Regions from separate parts of the Homo sapiens genome. Here all the other regions are linked to region 2. The links are contacts of gene promoters, found by promoter capture Hi-C in human tissues and cell types (Jung and others, 2019). All regions are on one chromosome and are shown on one strand. Each heading gives the region's core, a stretch centred on a gene start or on the middle of the fragment in contact. The rest is flanking DNA. Distances are from core to core; before and after follow the strand shown. Region 1 overlaps B4GALT6 (beta-1,4-galactosyltransferase 6). Region 2 holds the start of TTR (transthyretin). Region 3 overlaps DSG2-AS1 (DSG2 antisense RNA 1).

Region 1 (3,282 bases), core at 719-3,218, 37 kb before region 2:
TCCACGATGTGGATCATCTACCTGAAAATGACCGGAACTATTACGGATGTGGAGAAATGCCACGTCATTTTGCTGCAAAGCTGGATAAATACATGTATATGTAAGTAGTGTGCACTATTCCTGATATTGTACGATATAATTGCACAGTCATAGCATTGAAATGGTAGCAGCGTTATGTCCCTAAATCTGAGAGAACTCAAGAACCCCAAGAATATCATCTTTAACTCCATCGTGTCCTCCTGGGGAGCCAGGACACAGAGTGGCTTTTCGTTCCCCTGGGTGCTTCCTTACACAGAGGTTTGAATGTGGTGTGGTGGGAAAGAGAGCCTGGTTTCTGTGGTCAAGCACACACAGATTTAAACTTGGGTTCTCACACTTACAGTTCCAGGACTTATAGGTTAGTCACTTGCATCTCTGAAGGTGTATTCCTTGTTCACTGGGATAATAGATTCCATCCATAGAGCTGCTGTGAGATCACATGTGCTCTGTGCCTGCTGTGTGGTAGGTGCATAACTCATCTTGACTCCTGCCTGCTCTCCCCCAGTGATGGTTTGGAGGGCCACAAAGCCCTCTCTTCTGCTGTTTATCTTCTTCCTAAGGTGTGCATTCTTGACCTGCCCTTTAATAATAAAAAAAAAAAACCCAAATCTTTTCCTTCTCTAATTGGAGATAATTTAAAATGAACAGTTATCAGAGCTGAGATAGTAACTTAAAAGGACATGAAAGAATGCAAGTCTAATATGGGAAAAGGATCACAGTTTTCATTGGCCTAATGGGAGTAGAGAGAAAATCTGTTTGTTGCTTAGGGCAGGAAGATGTTGCCTGTGTCACAGTTTTGCCTGGTGCTAATCTAGAGTACAGAGAAGCAAAAAGTCTGACACAAGCAGGAAAAGAATGCTTGTTTCTTTCTTCTTCTTCCTCTTCCTCCTCCCCACTCCTCCTCCCCACTCCCGCTCCCCTCCTTCCCCCTCCCCGCTTCCGCTCCCCTTCTTCCCCCTCCCCCCTTCTTCCTCTTCCTTCCTTCCTTCCTGCTTCTCCTTCTCCACCTCATCCTTCTCCTCCTCCTTCCTTTTTTTTTGCTGGTCATTGTTATCATTAGAAAACCTTTTTCTTTATTACCTCTGTATCTGAACTTTGAGTATGGGGTTACCTTGAAGAAGGCCATCAAGGTTCACAATCTGGTTCTCTTTTTCTTTTTTTTTTTTTTTTGAGACAGAGTCTCGCTTTGTCGCCCATGCTGGAGTGCAGTGGTGCGATCTCGGCTCACTGCAAGCTCTGCCTCCCGGGTTCACGCCATTCTCCTGCCTCAGCTTCCCGAGTAGCTGGGACTACAGGCGCCTGCCACCACGCCTGGCTAATTTTTTTGTATTTTTAGTAGAGACGGGGTTTCACTGTGTTAGCCAAGATAGTCTTGATCTCCTGACCTTGTGATCCACCCGCCTCGGCCTCCCAAAGTGCTGGGATTACAGGCATGAGCCACCGTGCCCGGCAACAATCTGGTTCTTACCACTTCTGGAAACTTGATTTCAGTCAGTTTGCTAGAATCACATTAGATCCAGGGTAACCGATTTTCACAAAAAAAAAAAAAAAAAAAAAAAAAAAAAAAAAAAATCATAAAGGGCATATAAACTAAGAATTCTAAATTAATTTATTGTTAAATTCTAAATGAATTTGTTGTCTAAATAATTTGTTGTTAACTTGAAAATATCAATTTCTAATAAAATACAGTTGACCCTTGAGTAATGCAGGGGTTACAGTGGTGACCACCTCCCCCAGCCACCGGAATGCAGTTGAAAATCTAGTATAACTTTTGACTCCCCAAAAGCTTAACTACTAATAGCCTACTGTTAGCCAAAAGCCTTACCAATAATATAAACAATTGAGTAACACATATTTTGTATGTTATATGTATTGTATACCATATTCTTACCATAAAGTAAGCTAGAGAAAAGATGTTATTAAGAAAATCATAAGGGAGGGAAAATATATTTACTGTCCATTAAGTGGAAGTGGATCATCCTGAAGGTCTTCATCCTCATCGTCCTCACGTGGAGTAGGCTAAGGAAGAGGAGGGATTGGTCTTGGGGTCTCAAGGGTGGCAAGGTGAAAGAATTGAAGATGGAAAAGGAGGCAGGAGAGGCACATTCTATGTAACTTTTATTGAAAAAGAAATTGTATATCAGTGGACTTGTGCAGCTCAAACCTGTGTTGTTCAAGCGTCAGCTGTATTCATATCCATCTAGACTAGTCCCTGGATTGGTTAGGCATCTTGGACGTTTGTAGAGAAATTAGAATGTAGCTCTAGGAGAATGGCAGTAGATCAAGGCCTGGTCTGGGCAGTGCATAGACTTCAGCTGTGGGATGAAGCCTGGTGAAGCGTCCCTGCCCCACAGTGATGGCCACACTACTGCTGACCAGAGAACTCAGACTCTCAGGTGTAGTGTCTCTCCCACTTTTACAGTGTAAGATAAACACTGCAAGAGTTTGACTTGTTGGGTTTTGTTTTCTCTTCTTTAGTTTATCTGTTATACCTTCATTTTACCTAATAACTTTCCATTATTCATATAGCACAATTGATTATTTCCACTTAGAGCAATAAATGGAATTGATAGGCTTGCTGATTTATACATGTCAATAAGCACACAGACACATTTATTCATGTTTCCCTATCTGACGATCTCAGGTTTTTCCTAAACTACTAGCCTGGGCAAGAATAATCCATCTGATGTGGGAAGTACACGGTGCCAAGAATGCTTATTGGCCCTGTGGAACCCCCAGCTAGTCTTACTGTAATACCAGAACACTAAGCTCCCAAGTGTGAGCCTTGAGAGGTCTCAGGAGAGTATGGTTGTCTTTAGGATCAGTGTTGCTGTTACCATCTTGGAGTACCTTTGACCTAGGATGAGGGCAAGACTGCTTTCTCCTACAACCCTAGGCTTCCATGAAAGAACCAGTCTTCCCTGGTCTGTGTGCCACACAAGACCCCAGCTGGCAAACAGCACGTCCTTCTCAGAATGTGAGGCGAGTGTCTAACAAAAAGTTCCCTCCTCTGAGACAGCTTTGCTGTGGTTGCAGCCAGGTTTCCCTCAGCTTGATTTTTGGGTGCTGTGCATGGTCACGTTTTCTCTGCTCTGGCATCTGCTCCCCAGGGGCGTGTTTCAGTCCATGGGAATATATTCAGGATTGCAGGTCTAGGGATGCTGCCTAAATGTCAGAAAGCCAATCTATACCTAAACACACAGTTTAGCTAAGTAAAAATATAGTTTAGAAAAGTTTAAAAAC
Region 2 (3,442 bases), core at 1-2,500:
TGTAAATTCTTTAGCAGATGATGTGAGCCTCTCTCTACCAAGTGAGGGGCAAACGGGAAGATAAAACCAAGTCCTGTGGGAGGGTTCTTTGGCAACTTACCCAGAGGCAAATGGCTCCCAGGTGTCATCAGCAGCCTTTCTGAACACATGCACGGCCACATTGATGGCAGGACTGCCTCGGACAGCATCTAGAACTTTGACCATCAGAGGACACTTGGATTCACCGGTGCCCTGGGTGTAGAGAAGACACGTGAGAAGTTAACAAAATTGATCAGAGTGAAAGGATTTATTCTTTGTGGTATTAGAAATCTGGAGCGAAACAAGAATTACACACTGATCCCATTATCAGGAACGTAAGTGTCGACAATTAATGAGCTTCCCTACTCAGTATAACACAGACGTAATTGTTTCCAAAGCAAGAATGGTTTCTGCCTCCAGACACACTGCTATCAACCAGGGATGTGTATAATGAATTTTAAGGGAGAAAATAGGTCCCCTGAGAACAGTTGCTTTGTTAAAAGTCTCCATTTGAGTGGAATTACTGAAAAGATGTAATGTACCATACATAGGGCCAAACAGGTTTTCCTGAGATCATTTTAGTTGTTGCTATAGTCACTCCCTCTTACCAGTTGTTATAAAATAATGTCAGAACTACATCCAGACCCATTTTATAGTATTAGTTAATTCTTCTAGAGGATTTAAGAATTAGATATCTGACTAGAATATTGTTCACTAAGCCTTTTAAAGATTAATCAATAAATACGTTTTGAATAACTATAGGGCCAGAATATAATCTCCTGCAGTTTGTCCCCCAAATACATTTTATGGAGGGATACTTTTCTGAAAATTCAGTATTAACAGCTTCCTTAATATCATATCTTTATTTCTATCATCTATCTGAGGAAACAGAGGTACCAGATATTACAAACCTAATGCACCAAAGCAATGAGGTAGAATGCTCAGAGTTCAAGTCCCAGCTCAGTAAGCTCAGTGGAACTTCATTCTTTTTGAAGTTTGAATTAATTATATTAAAAATAGATGCTGGGTACCCTTGCCCTAGTAATAAAAGCTGGTTGGCAAAGCTGGAAGGAGTCACTTCTACTTCATTTAGCGTGAATCTTAAATGTAGGAATGGGATGTCACAGAAACACTCACCGTAGGGCCAGCCTCAGACACAAATACCAGTCCAGCAAGGCAGAGGAGGAGCAGACGATGAGAAGCCATCCTGCCAAGAATGAGTGGACTTCTGTGATGGCTGCTCCCAGCCTGGGGCTTTTATACTCACTTCTCCTGAGCTAGGCTGCTTATCCCTGCCAATCTGACTGCAAACCTGCTGATTCTGATTATTGACTTAGTCAACAAAGAGAGAATAAGTAACCCATACAAATATGAACCTTGTCTAGAGAGATTAGAGCATCGGAACATTCGTTCTATGAAATATTCTTAATAGGTCATTTGACCAGTTAGGTCACCAAAACAAAACAACCAAAACAAAACAAAACAATCAAAACAAAACAAAAATAGTCTTCTCCCTGTGTGACTGCGTGCACTAACATTCTTGGGGGTAATTTTTTCCTCCCTCACATATTTCTATGCATGTTTTCCATTTTTATAGATTTTTTGTCTCTCATTTTAGATGCAAGATTTTAGACAGATGCAAGTTGTAATAATGTATTTCATGTTGAATGACATCTAGCTGCACAGGCTTAAATATAGTGCATTAGAAAATGTTTGCACTTGATGGATCCATGGGTCAACAAGGAAAAACCCTTGGCAGTGCTCACATTTTTAAAAGCCTACATTTTAGCCAAACTAAGTCATTTGGAAGCTTTGCTTAGTCAGCAATTTCTCCACAATGTGTGTGTGCATGTGTGTATGTGTGTGTGTGTTCTGCCCAGATAAAGTCCACTTCAATCTAAGAATGGCATCTTCCCTCCCTCCCTTCCTTCCTTCCTTTTTTCCTTCCTTTTTTTTTTTTTTTTTGACAGGGTCTCACTCCAACGCCCTGGCTCGAGTGCAGTGGCACGATCACAGCTCGCTGCAGCCTTGACCTCCCGGGCTCAGGTCATCCTCCCACCTCAGCCTCTTGCCCAGGCTGGTCTCGAACTCCTGAGCTCAAGCAATCCACCCGCTTTGGCCTTCCAAAGTGCTGGGATTACACGTGTGAGCCACTGAGCTGGGCCAGAATGGCATATTTCAACCTGGCATTGATGCCCCTGAAATACAGAGAACCAAATCTTCTTTACTGACTCTTCTGCATTGGGCATGCAGGAACAAGGCTGACAGCTGGTTTTTGACAGAACCAAACTTGCTGGAAGAAAGTAGAGATGACTGTGAGAACCAGAAGCCATGATTGACAGCAGATTCTTTTCCTCCTGGCCGACTTATTAATACAAGTCCAGAAATTATGATGATTTGATGATTCATTACTCACATACAAAGTCTCTGTGTGTATGTGTGTGTGTGTGTGTGTGCGCGCGCACGCGCATGTGTGTGTGTGTCCACTAGCATGCGTGGCTTTGTTCATGGATAAACTAAGGCAGGTTTTTGTCCTTATAAGACAAACATGTAGAAAACATAGAGAAGACAAATATTTTGGACAAATACAAGCCAAGAGCAAGTCCGGTTTGGAGCACTAAGAATTGAGGGAACATTCCCATAACTGATAGAGTCAGATTAGAAAAAATTCAACAAGAAATTGTGAAGCACAGGAGCTTACAGGGAGTAGTGGAAGGGACAGAAAAGCCTTTCAGGAACATGAGAATGTGCAGGAGAGGACTCCGGGAGGTGGGTTGACCCCTCACAGCAATGAGCAAATGTAGTTGAGACCATAACTAGGAATGGAGTCTTAGACCCTTAGAGTTTAACTAGGAAGCAGCAGCAGAAAGACTTTTGCATTTGGAGTTGGATGACCAGAGTCATTCGATCCCAGTTCTGCTGCCCCGTTTCCCGGATGACCTTCTATGAGTTATCTACTATCTCAGATACTCGGCCAACTCGTTTGTAAAATAGAAATGCCTACTTTTCTACTTCAAAGGACTGTTCTAATAACTTTTAATATGAGAGGATGTACAAGCCTTTTGTAAGCTGTAAACCACTATCTTGCTGTAAAAGCATAACTAATAGAATTTGGTTCAACATCTATGCCTCAGGAGAGAATCCTTTCTCAAATAACATCTTTCATATATTGTCATCCAATATCCTCTTGATGATTTCCTATTGTTCAGAACCTGGATAGAGAGCCTTTTCTCTGGCTATGAATCATAAATATTTGGAAGTTCTTTCATAACCGAAGCAAAATCTACTGTGCACGCGTTTCAGCACTGCACCCTGTTGAAACTAAGAATCATCTCTTGTAGACCCTGTGAACTGGCAACGCTGGGCTGCCATCAGCCCATAGATATGTTATATTTGGGCTGCACAGAGTCTCTTTAAACATTTT
Region 3 (3,552 bases), core at 437-2,936, 41 kb after region 2:
AGCAAGAACTTTTTGTCTTTGCAATTTCTTTTTTTTCTTCTTTTGTGAGATGGAGTTTCACTCTTATTGCCAGGCTGGAGTGCAATGGCGCGATCTCAGTTCACCGCAAACTCCACCTCCCGGTTCAAGCGATTCTCCTGCCTCGGCCTCCTGAGTAGTTGGGATTACAGGCACCTGCCATCTGCCCAGCTAAGTTTTTTATTTTTAGTAGAGATGGGGTTTCTCTGGTCAGACTGGTCTCGAACTCCTGACCTCAGGTGATCCGCCCGCCTTGGCCTCCCAAACTGTTGGGATTAAAAGCATGAGCCACTGTGCCCAGCCTGTGGTTTCTTTTCTCTCTCTCTCTTTTTTTTTTTTAGACAGAGTCTCGCACTGTTGTCCAGGCTGGAGTGCAGTGGTGTGCTCTCGGCTCACTGCAAGCTCTGCCTCCCAGGTTCAAGCAATTCTCCCGAGTAGCTGGGACTACAGGTGCCCGCCACCATGCCCGGCTAATTTTTTGTATTTTTAGTAGAGACGGGGTTTCACCATGTTAGCCAGGATGGTCTTGATCTCCTGACCTTGTGATCTGCCCGCCTCGGCTTCCCAAAGTGCTGGGATTACAGGCGTGAGCCCCTGTGCCCGGCCCGCAGTTTCTTTAGGAGCTACCTGTGATGTGCCTCACCTTCAGGGTTTAATGCTTATTCAATGATGACACTGTTTTCTTTCTCCTTTACTTTGTGGAAAGGTTTTTTAGGTTGAGAGGAAATTTTGTTGTTAGTTATATTTCCTCAGTAAGAGCAACCAATTAAAAAGTAAACACAAGCGGGTGTAGGTGAAAGGTCAACAGAGGTGCTACAGTGGAATCCTAAAGCATGCAGTACACAAAAGAAGTCAGGAAACAAGAGTGGAGAAAACCAAAAAACCAACAGAAAACCCAGGTGGACAAAGATAAAACAAATACAAAGATGGAAGCTTAAACTTATCCATATAAATAATTGTTGTAAAACCTTCTGATAAAAGTCAGAAATTGTCAAAATGGGAAAAGCCAAGACCTACCTGTATATTGTTTACAATAAATGTACTATAAAGGCACAGACAGGTGTCAAGCAAAAGGATCAAAAAGATATACCACGGAAGCACTAACCATAAGAAGGCTGGTATGGCTGTATTAATGTTAGGCAAGGTAGATTTCAAGACAAAGAATGTGTTAGAAGAAAAACTTCAGGCAAATTAAATTTTACAAAGTTGGCTGGGTGTGGTGGCTCACGCCTGTAATCCCAGCAGTTTAGGAGGCTGAGGCTGGTGGATCACTTGAGGCCAGGAGTTCGAGACCAGCCTGGGCAACATGGGGAAACCCCATCTCTACTAAAAAAAAAAAAAAAAAAAAAAATGCAAAAATTAGCCTGGTGTGGTGGCGTACACCTGTAATCCCAGCCCAGCTACTCAGGAGGCTGAGGAGAATCACTTGACCCTGGGAGGCGGAGGTTGCAGTGAGCGGAGATTCTGCCACTGCGCTCCAGCCTGGGTGACAGAGTGAGACTCCATCTCCAAAATAATAAAATAAATAAATATATAAACAAATTTTACAAACTTTAATTGAGCAAAGAATAATTTGCAAATTGGGCAGTACCTAAACCGGAGTAGATTCAGAGCCACGCTGGTGCTGCCACGTGGTCAGAGAGGATTTATGGATAGAAAAAGGAAGTGAGGTACAGAATAGCAGGACTGGTTACAGCTCAGGGTTTGCCTTATTTGAATGCAGTTTGAACAGTTGGCTGCCTGTGAGTGGTTGAAGTATTGCGGCCGTGATTGCCTCAGACAAGAGTAGGTTACAGTCTGTTTACACATCCAGTTAGGTTATAGTTCACTAAGTATGGAGAAACCTTCAGGCCAAACTTAAAATATGTAACAAGGGCCAGGTGTGGTAATTCACGCCTGTAATCCCAGCACTTTGGGAGGCCAAGGCAGGCGGATCACCCGAGGTCGGGAGTTTGAGACCTGCCTGACCAATATGGAGAAACCCCGTCTCTATTAAAAATACAAAATTAGCTGGGCGTGGTGGCGCATGCCTGTAACCCCAGCTACTTGGGAGGGTGAGGCAGGAGAATCATTTGAACCTGGGAGGCGGAGGTTGTGGTGAGCCGAGTTTGCGCCATTTCACTCACTTGAAACTCCGTCTCAAAAAAAAAAAAAAAAAAAAAGGAAAAGAATGTAAGGAGGCAGCTTTAGGCTAAAGGTAATTAGCAGTTATAAACAGAGATGAAGAGAGGCATTTCATAATGATAAAAAGATCAGTTCTTCAGGAACACAGTAATCCTAAATGTACTTGTACCTAATAACACAGGCAAAAAGTTTCAAAACACAGGAAACAAAAATAGAAAGAATTAAAGGGGGAAATAAGCAAAGCCACACTTGGGAGACTTCAACCTCTTAGTAATTAATGGAAACAGTAGACAAAGTAATTGGGAATGATATAGAGGATTAAAATAAAACATAATGAAACTAATAAATTTTGGTCCTTTAAGAAAGTCAGATTTAATGATCTGAAATGTCTCATTTTTAGGTGATATTTGGTTAGCAACGTCCTACTGTAGACATTTTGATGTGGTGGTGATTGGAATATGGTCTGCAGAGATCAACCAGAATTAGCTCCATGTGCCACTGGGAGTGGGAACTGAAGTCACGCAGGAATAAACCAGTCTTCATGCTTTAGGATGTTCTGATGTGCCATTGTCGTGAAATCTTCATTCATGAGACATTCCAGTTTACCGGCAGTGTCGACTAGAATATGCTACAGCCCCCAAAATACGTTTTTAGTATAAGGATTATTTTGAGCTGATTATTTTGAGAAATAGCAGACGCAGGAGAAACTCTGAAGACAGAACGTAAGTTTACCTTTTGTAAAGGGATTTACATTTATAAGGGAAATGTCCATTTGTAAGGCTGTCTCCCTCCGTACCGGAAACACGGGATGACTATAAGTGACAAAGAGATTAATTTAAATCTGCATGACAAATCTTACTCAAGCTTACCAGACTTTTCCTGGTCACCTTCCCATAACTTGTTTCCCCTGCCCAGAAGCCCCTAATCCCCTTTCCTATGTTTTAGCCCAAGTTGGTATATTATTAAATTAAACTGGGCCTGAGGCTGCCTCCATACCTTGAGTCCCCACATGACGAACTGCAGCCTAGCTTGGTACATAAATGAACTGAAAGCCTAATTTAGGAGTATATTTTTGTAATACATAGCTGAGCGTCAATCAATCACAGCAGCTGAGTTTCAGCCAGTCACTGGCTGCCAACTGATCAGCCCACCTCCAAATAAGGCAAAGGCTCAGCTGTAACCAATCAAGCAGCTTCCCTACCTCACTTCCATTTTCTGTCTATGAATACGGCCTGCTCATTATTGTAGAATAGAGTTCTCCGAACCTTTTCTAGTTCCAGGGCAGCCCAATTTTGTGAACCTTTCTTTGCTTAAGTAAACTGTTAGATTTAATTTGTTTAAAGCTCTTCTTTTAACATTTTACACCCAAGTTCTAACCACCCCTTTGAGCTGCTCATTCCAGTTACTCCA

What was found. Contacts are between HindIII fragments. The study calls those that stand out against the background at their distance.
Region 1: a contact is called between a fragment that was not itself captured here and the fragment with the promoter of TTR in region 2, in 2 of the 25 tissues and cell types used here (H1 embryonic stem cells and hippocampus).
Region 3: a fragment that was not itself captured here is called in contact with the fragment with the promoter of TTR in region 2 in 4 of the 25 tissues and cell types used here (aorta, heart left ventricle, hippocampus and 1 more).

The regions. Positions count from the first base shown.
Region 1 is chr18:31,627,777-31,631,058 of GRCh38, reverse strand. B4GALT6 (beta-1,4-galactosyltransferase 6) reads left to right here. Exons shown (of 9, transcript NM_004775.5): 6 at 1-100. Among named protein-coding and RNA genes, the nearest start is that of TTR, 38 kb to the right of the region's middle. The HindIII fragment of the contact is 8,317 bases long and covers 1-3,282 here.
Region 2 is chr18:31,589,685-31,593,126 of GRCh38, reverse strand. TTR (transthyretin) reads right to left here and starts at 1,250. Exons shown (of 4, transcript NM_000371.4): 1 at 1,156-1,250; 2 at 101-231. The coding sequence starts at 1,224. The HindIII fragment of the contact is 7,126 bases long and covers 1-3,311 here.
Region 3 is chr18:31,549,350-31,552,901 of GRCh38, reverse strand. DSG2-AS1 (DSG2 antisense RNA 1) reads left to right here. Exons shown (of 6, transcript NR_045216.1): 3 at 2,543-2,864. Among named protein-coding and RNA genes, the nearest start is that of DSG2-AS1, 5.8 kb to the left of the region's middle. The HindIII fragment of the contact is 3,865 bases long and covers 1-3,552 here.